Regions from separate parts of the Homo sapiens genome. Here region 1 is linked to region 2. Evidence: promoter capture Hi-C in 16 types of primary human blood cells and fetal thymus (Javierre and others, 2016). All regions are on one chromosome and are shown on one strand. The core of a region is centred on a gene start or on the middle of the fragment in contact, and the rest is flanking DNA. Distances in the headings are between cores, read along the strand shown.

Region 1 (2,821 bases), core at 107-2,606, 110 kb before region 2:
GGGCTACCTAGAAGAGCAGTGGAAGAAAACTGGGAGAGGACCACTGAAGGCCTAGGGGCTACAGAAAAAATTCAAATGAACAGCTGGAATGGAAATAGTCACAATTTTAAGGGAATTGCAGGTAAGAGGTCCCTGACAAGGTAGTCTTCAAAGTATACATGAAAGCCCCTTCATGAGGAACATTTGCCATGTCCAGAGAGCATTGATACTTCATTGTACAGCACCAGGTAACAGAGCACTTTTATACTCCCCTCAGTTCCAACCCTGGTGGGGTGAAAAACCTCTGTTCCTGGGATAGGGAGGGGGAAAGAGACCCAACATGGGCCATTTCACGCTGAGACTTAAAAATCAGTCTTCCTAAGGCAAATCTAGTTTACTGTTCATTCCGTGATACTTCCTTTCTGTTGGAAAACTAAATTCCAAAAACTGCAATTCCAGCATCTATGGAACAAATTCCTACATTTGGGTTCTGGAAGAGATACAAAAATATTCTTCACACCAGAACATTGTAAAAGCCATAAAATTGTCCACCATCTGTATTCTTTTCTTACCTAAAGGTTTAATTCAGCCCACTGGAGTTTTTTGTCAAGATTTTTTCTGTCAGTTTTTAATAAGGAAATTTTCTAATACAAGTTATATGGCAGTAAAAGGAATTTCTAAAAATTGCTTCTTAGCCACACAGACTTTGTTAAAAAGTTCCTGTTTTAACTGCTTTAGGCTTCTGGCTGTCTGCTTTTTAAGAACATTCTAGAATTATCATAATAATTCCTTATTCCAGATAAATTACAATTTAATTACTACTTTTAAAAATGCTTGAATTATTGGAATCCATGGGCAATACATCTTCACATGTCCCTTATTCATATGCTAAGCAAGTTTTATTTTTGCTTTTTTTTTGCATTTAAATAATATTTCTCTGAACATTCTGTCTCAGAAATTGATGTTTAAATTCTTAAAAATAATTTGTATTGTAAGAAGTGGCTATCTAGCTCTTGAACAAGTCATAAAAATCCTTTGATGTGTGAATATTCTTCTACCTAAGACCTGAAATGTTGGCGAAGTAAATATGTTGTTCCAATTTTGGTCAAAGTAAGAAACAGAGAATAAAAAGTTAATAAGAATAGCTTCTTGTATTTCTCATAGTAAGTGAAATGTTTATATCTTGTACTACTGTCTCTACTCATTCCTAAATTCCATCACCTTGTGATCATTGCAATGACTTCTAGATGGTCCATCTGTTTTTACCTTTTATCCATTTTATCCCCAAAAGTGCTATTTAAAATATCCCTAGCACTAATAATAACAATAATCAATAATAAAGTAAAGGTTTATCACATGTTCACTACATGCCAGACACTATGCTGTGTGTTCTACATGGACCCTTTCCTTACAGCAATCCTATGAGGATAACCTTATTCCCTTCTCCAAATGAGGAAACTTGAAATGTTGAAGGGTTAGGTTAAATTCCCAAGTTCACAGAGCTACTAATGGTAAAGCTGGGATTCAAACACAGACAATTTAACTCCAGAGCCCAAATTCCAACATTTAATTGCTTCCCACTTTTCCTCAAGCATGGGCAAGTGCTTCATTGGGAAGAGTTTTTAATCCAAATTCCTGTTCAAATTCTTGGTTTCTACTTTACCACTTCTATGCCCTCAGGCAAGTTCTTAGTTTCCATTATTCTCAGTTTCTTCAACTGTAAAATGTGGAAAGTGTGACATCTGAAGACTGATGGTATCATATATATGACATGTAACACAGTGCCTAACAGGCGGTAAAATGATAGCCACTCTTGTTTTTATTTCCATAATGTGGCCTATATCATGTCAATCCCTGGCCCAGTAAACCATTAGGCTTCTTATTACACTGGAACAGTGCCTGGCATGTAATAAGCACCATGTGAGTGCTAATTATTAGAATTATTGGCTGGGCACTGGGCCACCTAGAACAAAGACAATTTCCCAGCTTCACTTGCAGTGAGACTGATCAATTTCTGTGCAGTGGGTTACAAAAACAGACATTATCTCGTGGCATATTCTAGAAACTGACCTTAAAACATAGCTATTATGCATCCCTTTGCCTTTTCTTCATCCCTTTCTGTTTTTCCAGCTACATGGAGCAAGATGGCTCCTGAGACCTGGAGGATAAAGGCCAGTGCCTTTTATTGCTCCATAACTTGTGTTAGAAAATCTCCTTACTAAAAATCTACAGAAAAATCTTGACAAAAAAAAAATTCCAGTGGATTGAATTAAAACTTTAGGTAAGAAAAGACTAAGATGGTGGACAATTTTATGGCTTTTACAATGTCCTTGTGTGAAGAATATTTTTATACCTCTTCCAGAACCCAGAGAGCTCAGCTGAAAGGAGTTTGGGTTCCTGACATTGTGGTGCCCTATACCAGCCCTTGCTCCTTTAGGGTTTCATTGTTATTTGGTGGTTATCCTAAATCTCCTGCTTTCATCAGATGTCTGAGATGGCAAAATTTGGAAGGATCAAGAGAACAGAGAGTTAATCCTTCCTAATGGGAAAGGTGGACAATGCCAAGGTTAAAATACCACATGCATCTTTGAGTTACTACTATACCCTCCCGAATGGAAATGCTTCAACTTTAATCTGAGGCTAGGCGCAGTGGCTCACGCCTGTAATCCCAGCACTCTGGGAGGCCAAGGCAGGCGGATCACGAGGTCAGGAGATCGAGACTATCCTGGCTAACACAGTGAAATCCTGTCTCTACTAAAAATACAAAAAAATTAGCCAGGCATGGTGGCGGGCACCTGTAGTCTCAGCTAGTCGGGAGGCTGAGGCAGGAGAATGGTGTGAA
Region 2 (3,032 bases), core at 498-2,997:
TGCTGAAATGAGCTTCAAAACTCTTCCAATGAGTTAACCTTTCTAATCTACTGAATAGCACATGTCTGTGTGGCACACACACACACACACACACACACATATACACACCTCCACTCACTAGCTGGAAGGCCATCCTACTTCCCTATGCTGGTCCTGACTCACCTTCCCACCCTGACTTCTATCACATTCAAGCTTCTGCCTCCCAAAGGCTCTTTATTAACACCACACTCTGGCTTACTTGATAGCCTTCAGACTTCCATTTTGCTTTCCCTAAATTAGCTGTGACAGTCTGACTTGTTTTCTTGTCTCCTCACAAAGTTGAACCCTATACCTGGAACAGTTATTTCCTGATAGCTCACACACAATTATCTTTAAAATCCCTCCTCTTCTGGACAGGATCTTAATTATTCGTTAATATCCTGGTACACAAGGCTTGTTGCCAACAGAAAAGCAAACACAAATCCGATACTCGGGAAGATGGCTCCACCTTTTACATCATCTTTAATTTTTGTTTTCCTTACAGGACATCCATAAGAAGAGATTTTTCTTTCTCCTTAAAAACGCAGCATGAAGTACCCTGCCATTTCGTGGTTTTAAAAATGCGTAACAGTAATATTTTCACAATGTTTTCCAACTTATAAAGTGCTTTTCCAACCATTTTCTCATTTGATCTTTACACACCAGACTGTACATAGAGAGCACACCAATGAATGTCCCTATTTTCAGATGAGGAAACAGGCTAAATGGGGTAGAGATGCTTAGGCAATTCTGCACACCATGCCAGAAGTAGAACGAAATTCAAATCCAGTGCTTTGCAGGGTCACCACCACCCTGCCTTATGAAAATGGATTCCTAGGAGGAGCGTTTTGCAAAAATTCCACTGCTTCCTCCAACCTCTGCCACTGAAAGGGACTCTTTGGCTTAGGTAACAAACACCCTTTCGAAACATGACCTACTGTTCCTTCCACCGGCTTACCAGGAAGGGTCACGGCCAAAATAAACACCTCTGGGAGGCCGGCACATGGCATAAATTGAAGGGTAAACCTCAGCAATGGGGAACTTCGGAGGGCCCTCAGGCATCCACTCTACCCGGGGGCCGCCAGCCGCACGCAGCCTCGGATTCGCCCTGCACATCTGCCGCCCAGCAGGTACCATGCGCCAGCCACTCCGCCGGGCACACCGCAGACCCTGAGCTAAGGCAGGGTCACTGACACGCGGGAGTCCTCTTTTCCCAGTCGCGGATGCATCAAATTCCTTTCATTCACATCACACACACAGGATATCAACTGAAAGCTACACCCCACAGTCCCAGTTTCAGGAGGTGGGATTAACCCTCCAATCATGTCATTCTCCAAAATCTATTCCTCCAGTACCACCTCCCCATCTCCTGGATCTCAACTCCTAAGCAATGCCTCCTGCCTTCTCCAGACCCCACCACCACCTCCTTCCACCTTTCCCCAGACTCTAAATGTCACCCCTCCAGCTCTCATCCCGCCGCTTCTCGCCCCGCAGTGCCCGCCTTCCCCGCCCTCCAGTGCCCGCACTGCCCCGCGCTCCTTACCTTGCTCTCGCGGAGGGGCCCCATCGCGCCGCTGCCCGCCGGCTCCTCGCGCCGCCGCTGCCGCCGTCCAGGAGGAGGCACCTGCGAGCACGGAGCGAGGAGACTGCGCTGAGCCGGCGCGGGCTGCGGGCGGCGGCTCTTGGTGAGGCTCCAACGCGCCGCCGCCGCCACTGCCGCCGATTGCTCTGGGCTCCGAGGGCACGCCCGACCCCGCCCCGGCCGGACACGTGGTGCCGCACTCGCTAGAGGCAGCTCCTGGGGCGCCTCCCACGCCCTCCCTCACCTGCGGCCTTCGGGGCAACTCGACCGCGCCTGGGCGCGCCCCACCCGCCCGATTTCCCCACGGCACTCCGCGCCCCCCCAGCCAGAGCCGGTGTCCCTCCCTCTCCAAGGAGCTCGGCCCGGTGTAGGCAGGCTGCGGCTAGCGGCATCTCCAGCCCAGGGGTGACCCCACCCTCTTTTTTTTTTGCACTTGATCTCAGGTTTGAAGTGGGTGGCGTTGGATGGAGTGACTGAGAAAAGCTGCGACATCACAGAGAGACAAAATAGAGAAAGTTTTCCCCTGGCCACCCCTCCTTGGCCTCCAGGTCTTAAGTCAGCCTACAGCTCCCCACAACTGCCTCGCCCGAGAGCTGCAGAGATCCCTCTCGTACCGGAGCCCAGCCAAGCCAGTGCGTCAGGACCGACACAGCCTCTGGGTTCCGGGATCTGAAAGGCTGCGATGGATTCTACTTGGAAGGGGTTGCATCAGAAAGGCCTTCAGTGGTCAGCGCAGCTCCCTCCGGCTTGGAGAAGCCAGGCTGCTATGTAGCCAGAGAACAGTCTTTTCCCCAGCGCTGCCCTGCAGCTGCCCGGCTCCAGGAAGTAGCTCCAGCACACTGCTAAGGGAAGAGCACTGGAATTGAACTCAGAAAAACGAGTTCAAGCCAGCACTCCAATCGGTCCCTTCAGCCTGAGTGCCTTTATGCCTAAAGTTTTTGTTGTTGTTTCGTTTTTTGTTTTTTTTTTTTTCCGTTGCTGTTGAAACGGCATCTCGTTCTGTGGCCCAGGCTGTAGTACAGTGGCGCGATCAGGGCTCACTGCAACCTCTAACTCCTGGGATCAAGGGATCATCCCGTCCAGGCCTCTCAAAGTGCTCGAATTACATGCGGATGCCATTGCATGCGTGGCCTACGCCTACGGTTCTTGACCCTTCTGAACTTCAAATTTACCCTTGTTAAATTGAGGGATAATAATAGTGATACCTACCTCTAGGATAGCTGTGAGGGTTAGGTGAGGAAAACAAACAGCTCTATCCAGCTGATTGAACAGAACTTTCCAAAGGGCAGCTAAGTCAGGTCCAGATGATCCAGTCAATATTTGTTGATGCCTTTTACATGACAGGCAGAAAAAGCATTTGTGATGCACACAAATTTGTTTAAGAAAGCTCGAAAATCTGTCCAACTGGGGACTTAGAATAGGGTACATCAGC

Evidence for each region. Contacts are between HindIII fragments. The CHiCAGO score rates a contact against its expected background, and 5 or more counts as called.
Region 1: a contact is called between a fragment that was not itself captured here and the fragment with the promoter of SYBU in region 2, in 2 of 17 cell types (total B cells and naive B cells). The highest score is 7.2, in total B cells.

What each region holds. Positions count from the first base shown.
Region 1 is chr8:109,531,564-109,534,384 of GRCh38, forward strand. PKHD1L1 (PKHD1 like 1) reads left to right here. Exons shown (of 78, transcript NM_177531.6): 78 at 1-2,821. Among named protein-coding and RNA genes, the nearest start is that of EBAG9UORF, 6.8 kb to the right of the region's middle. The HindIII fragment of the contact is 8,383 bases long and covers 1-2,821 here.
Region 2 is chr8:109,643,075-109,646,106 of GRCh38, forward strand. It overlaps SYBU (syntabulin), which reads right to left and starts at 1,748. Exons shown (of 7, transcript NM_001099754.2): 1 at 1,562-1,748. The coding sequence starts at 1,585. It overlaps SYBU-AS1 (SYBU antisense RNA 1), which reads left to right and starts at 1,055. Exons shown (of 2, transcript NR_161375.1): 1 at 1,055-1,148; 2 at 2,044-3,032. RefSeq lists a silencer at 1,513-2,002 and enhancers at 1,515-2,451, 2,113-2,432. The HindIII fragment of the contact is 4,274 bases long and covers 191-3,032 here.